3 separate regions of the Homo sapiens genome follow, and all the other regions are linked to region 3. Evidence: promoter capture Hi-C in human tissues and cell types (Jung and others, 2019). All regions are on one chromosome and are shown on one strand. The core of a region is centred on a gene start or on the middle of the fragment in contact, and the rest is flanking DNA. Distances in the headings are between cores, read along the strand shown.

Region 1 (3,271 bases), core at 241-2,740, 140 kb after region 3:
AAAATGTAAATGCACTTTCTAGATGTTAGGATAAAGTTTTACAAATAGCCTAATTTCAGATACTGACGCTAAATTAATTCCATTCAGGAATATACATTTGGTTAAGTGGGAAACCAAAATATGAAAACTTTAAATATTGTTTATTCCCAAATACAGATTGGTCATGTTCCCAAAGGGGATATGTTTAAGTCTGACCATTATTTAGGCTTAAATATTACTGACAAGCAATATGAGTTATGATTAGATTCCCAGAAGAGTCTACCAAAGGTTTCTTAACCTATAATGGCCATCTTGCAGCATCATGGAACAAATCTAAATTCTGGGTCATGGAAGCAGAAGGGCCATGCTCCAAGCACTGAATCAATCCTAGGTAATACTCTGAAACAAAGAAAAAAGCAGTTTTGGGCAACATCTCACCACTCTATTTTCCATCAGCCTCTTTCTAGTTCCCACCTCTGCCTCACTCTCTGCCCTGATGCTGCTCTAAACTGTTCATTAGGGTCTACTATCACCCAGAAATAGTGGGCTGTGTTCCAATTTGCCTACTTTCCCTCTCCATTGCATTTGCATTAAAGATTGGGTAGTTCAATGCTGGTTTTGACTTTTTTCTATGTTATTGTATATTTCAGAAGACAAGGTTGACAGTGACATAAGTGTCCATTGATCTTTCATGCTTGTTCCAACCAGTTTTCAAAACGGAGTTCTGAAACACTCATTTCCTCAGTGCAGCTGTTCCAAGCTGTGTATTCTTGTTAGCAGAGGAAACCATTTAGCAATCCCTACCCAGTGCTAGGCGTATGTTAAGTGCCAAACCATATGTTCTCAGTTTACCTTTCCCACAAGGCTTAAGGTTGACGGTATTAGAGCAAAAAACAAAACCGTTGTTCAGAAAGGCTATGTAATTTTTTCAAGGTAATTTGGCTGGTAAGTTCCGAAGTTAGAATTTCAATCCAAATTTGATCCTAAAAGCTTAGTGTCTTAACTTTTCTTGCATTATAGTACGCTGCTAAAAGGAAACCATTTAAACTAAAATATGACCATCATTTCAACAGTCCTCGAAAAATGTATAACTAAGTATACATTTATTAATCCAAGTGAATCTCTAGTTGGTATAATTTCTGTCAGGATAGCAAGAGGAAACTAAAAGTAATAAAATCCTCATACTGTGTGAATAGCACCAACTAAGATGCAGCTGGCTGTATTTGGGAAGACCTGGCCCTTTGCACATCTATACAAATAATCCTGCCCACAGAGTAAATTAGTCCACATTTATATAGCATCTCATGGCTTACTATGTTCTTTGACATATTATCTTAGTTGAAGCTCAGAAGCAACACCCTTAGCCAGCTACATCTTACAGATAAGTAAACAGGTTTGGGACTTAATCCAAGAATGGGTCCCAAATCTAAACTCTAAATCCTTTGAGTTTTTTTTCCATTAGTCTATCCGACTTGTACTTTCTTATATTCATAAACCTGAGGTTTACCAATTTGAACATACAGACATTCTCCCTCTCTCTCAGAAACAGCAATAGGAGCAAATTCAGCACAGGGGGTGGACATCAGAGAGCTTCTAGCAAATGTCTGTGTATGAATCATTTGTTAGACGTATATAAACTGGAAACCATTGTCACTAAATGGCTTTTGCCTACTTTTAAGATATTTTATAGTGTTTTAATTCAATAAGATATGATTAATTAAGAAATATAACCTTTATTTAAGTTATGGATAGTATCCTTAACTGTATTTTCAAAAAATTAAGTATAAAATTGTGATAACAGCCTAACAGTCATTAATTCAAACCAATCCCTAAATTGGCAGAAGTTCAGCTGGTATCAGTAAAACAATCAAATATTGCTACCCAGCTGCTCCTATTCCTATCTGCTCCACAAATACTGAGACATACAAGTCATTCTTTCATTTAACAAATATGTATTAAACACCTATGCACCTACCATGTACAAGACTGCCTACTAAATGATGGGAATACAGGTGTGAATAAGAGACAAGGTTTCCGGACTCACAAAACTTAAAATCTAGCTGTAGAGACAGACAATAAACAAAAGAAATTACAAAATGTGGTCAATGCTATGAAGGAAATACAGGCTGCTCAGACAAAGAATAACAAGGGACATCTCATTTAATAAATGACAGCAATTAACATTCACTGAGCACTTTGGATAGGGTAGTGAGAGAAAACCTCTCTGAAAAAATGACGGTTAAGTTCTATAACAAAAGAACAACAAGGAGACACCAATGTGATGACTGGGGAGAAAGGCTTTTTAGGCAGAAGGAATTTCGCATACCAGATCCTAAGTGGTAATCAAAAACCTAAAAGGCAGCTAGTGGGGCTGGATATGGTAAACAAGGGGAAGAGATGAGTATCTTTTACATGGAAAGGAAAATATGAGAAAGCTCAACTCAAATTATTGCTAGGAATTGTGGTATTACACATGGGCTCTTAGGCTAATATTTTGATTATCTGCTGGCATTTTTTACCTATTCCATCCTGTTTTACTTTAATAAGAGTCTGGGCCAGGTGCAATTCCTCACACCTGTAATCCCAGCACTTTGAGAGGCTGAGCCAGGAGGGCTGCTTGAGCCCAGGAGAATGAGAACAGTCTGGGCAACATAGTGAGACCCCATTTCTCAAAAAAAAAAAAAAAAAAAAAAGACAATTAGCCAGGCATAGTGGCGTGCACCTGTAGTCCCAGCTACTCTGGAAGCTTAAGCAGGATGATCTCTTGATCCCAGGAGTTGGAGGCTACAGTGAATTATGATTGCATCACTGTACTCCAGTCTGAGTGACACAGTAAGACCCCATCCCATGAAAAAGAAAAAGAAAAAGTCTAACATGAGGAACTCTTCTGATTTTTCACCTATTTGAGCAAAGATAGAATTAACTATTAACAAATTGACTTTGGTTTACCTACTAAGAAGTACTGTTTCCAAGTACTACAATTTTGCCTTTTCATTATCCAAAAAAAAAAAAACCAGTATTGTTAGTCTGAGTTTAATATTTCCAGTTTTTAAAATCCCCAGCCTCAAAAAGGGTGAAAACATTTTCATAATTAGATCCAAAGGCGAGAAAGGCAAAAGAATATAAATATTCTTTAACAACTAATTTTTTTCTATATTTGTTCACAATGCAGAAGGCTCAGACCCCATGGGTTTCTTCAGTTCTTGAAGAGAAAATCAATTTTTAAGTCACTCTCCTTATATACACATTTGCCTTTCAGTTCTGCCTTCCAATTATCTTTTTTTTCTCATTC
Region 2 (3,354 bases), core at 511-3,010, 240 kb before region 3:
GGCCTCATAAAGAAACACACAGACACGCCTGTCTCAGGCACACACACCCACACCCATCCTTGTTGCCACGGGCTACACAGCTCCTACCCCAGGTCTGCTATTGAAAATATTTATTACTAACGTCATGAAGCTTACTTCATTAAAATGGATTAGGAATGGGATCCTCATAAGAGACACCTGAGAGTTGGATGTATTTTCTACAATATGTACCTATTACTTTCATAATCAGAACAATGAATGTTAATCTTTAAAGGCAAATATCAAAATATATGCCCCCCAAAAGAATTGTACATGAATTACCAAATTTATCAAGAATTGGCCACTACAGAGTCTCAGAACTGATTATCTACTCCAAGTTGTTTGTCAAACTCCTTTTTAGAGCTGCAGAAAGCCTACTTCAAAAGGAAGTTCTGGCCAGGCGCGGTGGCTCACGTGTGTAATCCCAGCACTTTGGGAGGCCGAGGTGGGTGGATCACCTGAGATTGGGAGATTGAGAATAGCCTGACCAACATGGAGAAACCCCGTCTCTACTAAAAATACAAAAGTAGCTGGGCGTGGTGGCGCATGCCTCTAACCCCAGCTACTTGGGAGGCTGAGGCAGGAGAATCGCTTGAACCCGAGAGGCGGAGGTTTCTGTGAGGCAAGATCTTGCCATTGCACTGCAGCCTGGGTGACATGCGTGAAACTCCGTCTCAAAAAAAAAAAAAAATTAAGTTGTAACAGCTGGCTAAGCGAAGCTGGTGAAAGTGGAGGTGTTCTGATGGGAGCTGGAGCTGAGAGCCCTGGGGGCCTTCCAAGGAAGCCTGGGCTCTGAGAAGTAATGTGAAAGTCACTAGGCCAATCAATCCTTTTGTTTAACAGAGCCCCTAACTGAAGCCCAGAGAGAAATAACTCACCAAACAGCAGACAGAGTCTCAAAGGACCAGGACTCCAGCAGAGCTAGGGCCTGTGACTCCTAGTTTGAACTCCGTATTAGTTAAGCGAATCTGGCCCTGAAAGTAATCCTGAACTCTGAACTGCAACCATCTACTTGAGAGTCCATGTGCTCTCCTAACTATAATTTAGGATTGGTTTCAGCTAAAAGTGGTATTAAATGGCAGGCAGTATTAGGACATACGTAACCACTGACGGCTTCTCTTCTGAAGACCAGTGACTCCTCAGCCCAGTACCCCAGGCCGCCCACACCCTGCGATCCTGGTGCTTCTGCTGGCATTGAGTGCCCTGCAGCTGAAACCCAGCCTGGTAAGTAAACAACGGTGAGTTTACTCAGCTCCGGGTAAGTTCCACCCATTCATTCCTGTCCCCTCCTCCCTCACATTCCTCTACCCACAAAGCAATGCTTCAAACTGGAGGAAGAGTTAACTTTACAGCATTCATCCAAACAGATGCAGTCCGCAGTTCATGCAAACAATGTAACCAGCTGTCAACTGACCTCCAGAATATGGGGCCTTCCCATGAGGCAGGAGTCTGTGGACTGGGATGGAACAGCTCGCCAAGCCCTTCAGCGGAGCCAGGAAAGAGAGGGCCACCTCCCAACTTCCCTGAGTGCCCTCCCCATGCCAAGGCGCCAAGCTGAGGCAGAGGCTCGGGACCACTGAACCTTATGAGCTCAAGACCATGCCAGCCACCCCCCCAAGGCACACAGGTGAGATGAGAACAGCATCTTCTCACGCCGCCTGCTTTTCTGAGGGATCTTCTGGCATGAGCCACAGAAATGACTTGAAGACTTATATGGAAGATGGGACAAGATGGGACGACATGTGTTTCCCTCCTAGAACCGCTTTCTGGACTGGGAGTGTCCACACTCCAGGTCAGCCAGGCCAGATTGTCACACCATGCCCCTCTCTTCCTCCTCCTCTTCATTCGCTCCTCATGGGCCCCTCCCCTGGCTCCCCTGCCCCTCCCACTGCCCCCCATGTCCGTGTCTCCCAAGGTCCTTCCCAGCCTCTTCTCATGATAGGCTGTTTCTGGAGAGTTCCACCCAATTCCACAGCTTCTGCAACTGCCTGGCACCTGTGCATCTGAGACCTCCCACCCAGATCGTGCACTGGAGCTCTACACCACATTTCCAATTGCCTCCAAGATGTCAGCCCCTAAATGTCCTCATAGACTCATAAATTCCAAACTCCAGTGATGCCGACGCTCCTCCTTCCTAGCTCTCTTGCCCCTCATGTCAGAAGCCTGGGACAGTGCTGGGCACCCCTCTGTGTCTCCACCCCAACAGCCCAACAGTCACCAGGTGCTAGAAAAGACTGCCTTTTAAAAGCCCTCTCCTGTCCGCCCCTGCCTACCAGCCCCCTTGCCATGGCCATAAGTCAGCCCCCAACCCTACCCCCACCAATCCTCTCTTGACTGGTGCAGCAGCCCCCGGAGGCTTCCTCAGCCAGGCTGAGCACGAGGTTTCTTTGGGCAGACAGACTCTCTCATCCGTACTTGATTGGAATTCCTGTGGGTGGGGCCCGGCAAGAGAAAAGCTTTGAAAATCAACCCCCACATGGGTTTTGAGGAAGAGCCAGGCCTGGGCAACCAGCATTCTGGCCAATTTCCTGCTCAGGCCTCACCCTCTTTTCAATCCACCCTCTGCCTGTGGCCACCCAAAACCACTAGCACTTTCTGGAACATGGCAGGCCTTCTTTGGCTTTCTGCTGTGTACTTCTGTTCCTTCCACCCTAGCCCCACCCATCCTCTCCCCATCCAAGAGCAAACAGCTCTGAACAGTCTGGAGTAGCTGGAGACACTCCTCATCTTGGCACTCTCCTTGCCACTTGCCATCTAGCAGAGCTGGATGCTTCCCTTGAGCGCTCTCTGCTCCTCCCCCAGGTATCTAGGCTGCCTCCCATCTCCCCCACTGGCATTTGAACTTTAAGAGCCTGGTCTTTGTGCTTGGAATCCAATGCAAAGGCTTCCCATAACTAGCACTCCATAAACAACTTTTGAACAAAAATTCAAATTCCCAGTGGTTCAGTTGCACCAATTAAAGACTAAGTATTTCAGTCTTTTCATCCCTTTTTTTCTCTTTGAACTACCCATACATAATACAATGGATACATTTAATTTTCCAGAGTTGTTAATGGTATATAGAAGTCTAAAAACTATTTAGAATTAGCCAAATTAAAAAAAAAATCGTTACGCTGAACTTTGACCTCATTTTAGACAGGGGCCCTGGACTGCTAGTCAAGACACTTCTTTTGACCTTGCACATCTGAGTTTCAGCAGAACTTTGAAGATATTTGTGAGTTCCTCTTGCACAAGTGAAAGAAACAGATGGTGGAATGACTGTAGTGAACCTGTCACTACACAGTCATAACCTGAGTTCTAATTAATGAGCAAGAGCAACCTTTAGGAAAAAAAAAA
Region 3 (3,330 bases), core at 831-3,330:
TCTCCCAAATTATCCTGGGGGAAAAAAGCATTCGAAATCCAACAACAATTTATTATCCACTCAGTCTCTAGTTAAGCAGCCTACTATTAGGTGACTCAAAGATGACTGCTCACCATATAGAACGGAGGGTGTCCAATCTTTTGGCTTCCCTGGGCCACACTGGAAGAAGAATTTTCTTTGGCCACACATAAAATACACTAATGATAAATGATGAGCTAAAAAAAAAATTGCAAAAAAAACACAACAACCCATGTTTTAAGAAAGTTTATGAATTTGTGTTGGGGCACATTCAAAGCCGTCCTGGGCCCACATGCGGCCCATGGGCTGCGGGTTGGACAAACTTGATGTAGAAGTGGAGGGGATGGGCTACACAAAGTAACCAAGGAATGTTTACAGACTGATTATCTCTTCATGTGAAAATGATTTTGATATTTCTTAATATCGACCTCATAAGTTCCTTATGAGGATTATGAGTTCATATTTTTAAAACGCTTAAAACAGTACCTGGCACATAGCAAGCACCATATTAAGTGTTTAAGTTACTTTTAATCAGTTTCCAATTGCATTCGTTCATATGTTAGAGATCTACAATGCCTAAAGAAATTACCAGGTTGAGAGAGAAGTTCCAACTGTACAGTCGTTAAATCTAAAACTAGAAAGAAAGAGGTCTCAGACAATGTTTCATGCAAGCTCATTTCATGGTTGAAGAAATTAATCATATATCTCATATTTGCAGAGAAATTCATAGGTTACAAAAAGCTTTCACAACGATTATTAAGTTTGATTCTCACAACAGCTTGTAAGGGATGCAAGGCAAGTATAATTAACTGCATTTACTCATTAGGAAATCGAACCAGAGATGTTAAGTGACTTGTCCAAGGTCACAGTTAGTAAGTCCCGGCTTGAATCCAGGTCTCTTGATGCCCAGTCTTCTTTCCTCTACAAAACACACTGCAACTTGGGCCCTGGACTTCAGTGACATTTGGAAACAATGATTCCAGTGATTACAGGACCCTAAATGAAAGTTCTGTTGCAAAAGCTAATGTGAAAAGGCAACTCTATTAACTGCATGTAGAAGTAATCAATATCTGGCAAAATATCTACCTACACATGAGTGTACAGTATAAAATGCCATGATTACATATATTCACAAAGGTCATCACAAATCTGCGCAGCACTCAAGTGACAGTTCTCCATAATATGTCATTCAGAGATCGCCAGACCCTGAGTATATTGATGTCAGTCTAAGAAAAGACTGCCACTTCCCTTAAACCAAACCCAGAAGGGAAAGGCTTGCCCCAGAGGATGGTAAAGACATGGAGCCTAACAAGGCTCTGCGGGATTACACGCAGGTTGCAAACTCCCAGCGATAAATGAGTACCGACCCTCCCAGCCGGTGAATCAGCTCGCGTTCATCCGGCAGCATCTTTCCCCGGGGCTCGCCACCCCCAGCGCAGCTAAACTGGGGAGCTAAAGGTGATACGGCCACCGTTTGCAGGATTCAAAATAACCTCACAGAAAGGCTAGCTGGCGGTAGAAGCGGCACTGCATACCAACACAAGACGTTATTTTAAGCGCGTGTCCCCACGAGAGAACCCATCCGATCTACTGGAGCAAGCATCTCCCACCCGCCGGGAATTTTCCAAAGCCAAGCAGGAGGGGAGGCACGCCCGCCCTGCTAAATCCACATGGGCCCCCTTTCCACTCCGAAGCCCGCTCTGCCCCCAGCTCGAGCAGCGCGGCAGGGGCCTGGGAGACCCCCGAGGCGGGCCACCTTCCGCCGCCTTCACCATCTCGCCCGAAAGAGGAAGGTGCCGCAGCGGGCGACCGGCTGGTAGGGCCGAGGGTTCTGAGGCGCTGAAGGGGATGGCGCTGGTGGGGCTCGCCTGGGCCCGGCGCTCCCGCCCCCTCCCCAGCCTGACAGCTGGCGGCGAGGGCCGCACAGCCCCAGTCCTCGACGCCGGCCGCGGGGTGCCTTACCTTTGTGTAGAGCTCCGACGCAGCCATGGCGGGCCCCGCGCGCCTACGCCCCCCGCCTGTGCGGAGGCCGCACCTCGCCTGGGCGGCCGCCCGAGCGGACTAGGAAGCGCCCGCAGCCGCCGGCAGGGAGCAGGGCAGGGCAGGGCCGGGCGGGGAGGGCCGCGCGGGGCGGGGCGGGGCGGGGCGCCTCAGGCGCTGGCCGCCCGCAGGGGCCTCGCCATCACTCCCGGGCTCGCCGCGAGCAGCCGCGAGCGCTCCACCTGCCCGGGGTCCTAGGGGTCGCCGCCGCCGCCGCAGCCACTTCGGCGGCCCGCGATGCTGCCTCCGCTGCCGCCGCCGCCACCGCCGCCGCCCTGTGCATTATGGGAGCGGGAGGAGGCTGCGCTCCAGCGCTGCCACCGCGGCTGCTCTGGGCTCTCTCGGGCTCACGCTGCCTCCCATCGGCTACGAGCACAGAGCATCATCATCATCAGCCTGCCAGCCGGCCCCGCCGCCGCCTCGCGCCCTGCCGAGGCCCGGAAACCCGCCCGGGACGTGAGCCCCGAGGGCGCGGCACACCCCGGGCGCCCCCACCCCGAAGCGAGCCCGGGGCCCTCTGCTGCGGAGCCTAGCTCCCGCGGTAGCGCAGCCATGGCACGGGCTGTTACTGTGTCCGAATAAACGATGGGAGCCTCCAGGCTGCTCCTCCCGTCCTTCCAAGCATTCCTAGGGAGAGGATTTAGGGGAAGCCCTCTTGAAAGACTGTAGAATAACCCAGGACTGTAGAAGAGCCTTGTCAGCAGCAGTGACCCGGGAGATGGGCAATGCAGGACCGGGAATTTCAGGTTAAGGTTGATCACCAAGGTCATTCCGAGCACCTCGATGTCTGCAGCAAAGTCGTCTCCCGATACCAGAGGGCAAGGGCCGCTTCTAAGCTACAGAAACTTAAGTGACTTTGAAACGAGATAGCCCGGGGACAGCCCAGGTGCCTCTTTCCTAGACCTGTGCGTTTGCGGAGATGCAACTACCCTTCTGTCCCAGCCTTCTTCCCGTCCTGTTCGCTGCTGGTGATTGTCGGCTCCATGGTGGCACCTGAAGTTTATCCGGTTGCCACCTGAAAATGACGGAGTACTTACATGGAAAATCTGTATTACAGTTTAACTCAACATCAAAAGGGCAAAGCCGCCCTCACTCTCCTCACGGTGATCCTTGAACATCCAGCACAAGAATGTGGTCTTTCTACTCCCAACCCTGCGCTGTCTTCATCCTCTATCTTCTCCCCACCCTCATTGTCGTTTCTGGTTGAATAATCTTCATTCTTTATTGTTGTCGTTGTTGTTGTTGCTGTTTTTGTTTGTTTAATCCCTGCCT

What was found. The method cuts DNA at HindIII sites, captures the fragments that hold promoters and counts their contacts. A contact is called where the count stands out against the background at its distance.
Region 1: a fragment that was not itself captured here is called in contact with the fragment with the promoter of MYO5A in region 3 in 1 of the 25 tissues and cell types used here (lymphoblastoid cells).
Region 2: a contact is called between a fragment that was not itself captured here and the fragment with the promoter of MYO5A in region 3, in 1 of the 25 tissues and cell types used here (dorsolateral prefrontal cortex).

The regions. Positions count from the first base shown.
Region 1 is chr15:52,669,523-52,672,793 of GRCh38, forward strand. All of the region lies in intron 2 of ATOSA (atos homolog A), which reads right to left. Among named protein-coding and RNA genes, the nearest start is that of ATOSA, 8.2 kb to the right of the region's middle. RefSeq lists an enhancer at 2,070-2,571. The HindIII fragment of the contact is 4,747 bases long and covers 1-3,271 here.
Region 2 is chr15:52,287,283-52,290,636 of GRCh38, forward strand. All of the region lies in intron 1 of MYO5C (myosin VC), which reads right to left. Among named protein-coding and RNA genes, the nearest start is that of MYO5C, 6.8 kb to the right of the region's middle. The HindIII fragment of the contact is 3,492 bases long and covers 15-3,354 here.
Region 3 is chr15:52,526,800-52,530,129 of GRCh38, forward strand. MYO5A (myosin VA) reads right to left here and starts at 2,081. Exons shown (of 42, transcript NM_001382347.1): 1 at 1,981-2,081. The coding sequence starts at 2,007. RefSeq lists a silencer at 1,731-2,610. The HindIII fragment of the contact is 17,074 bases long and covers 1-3,330 here.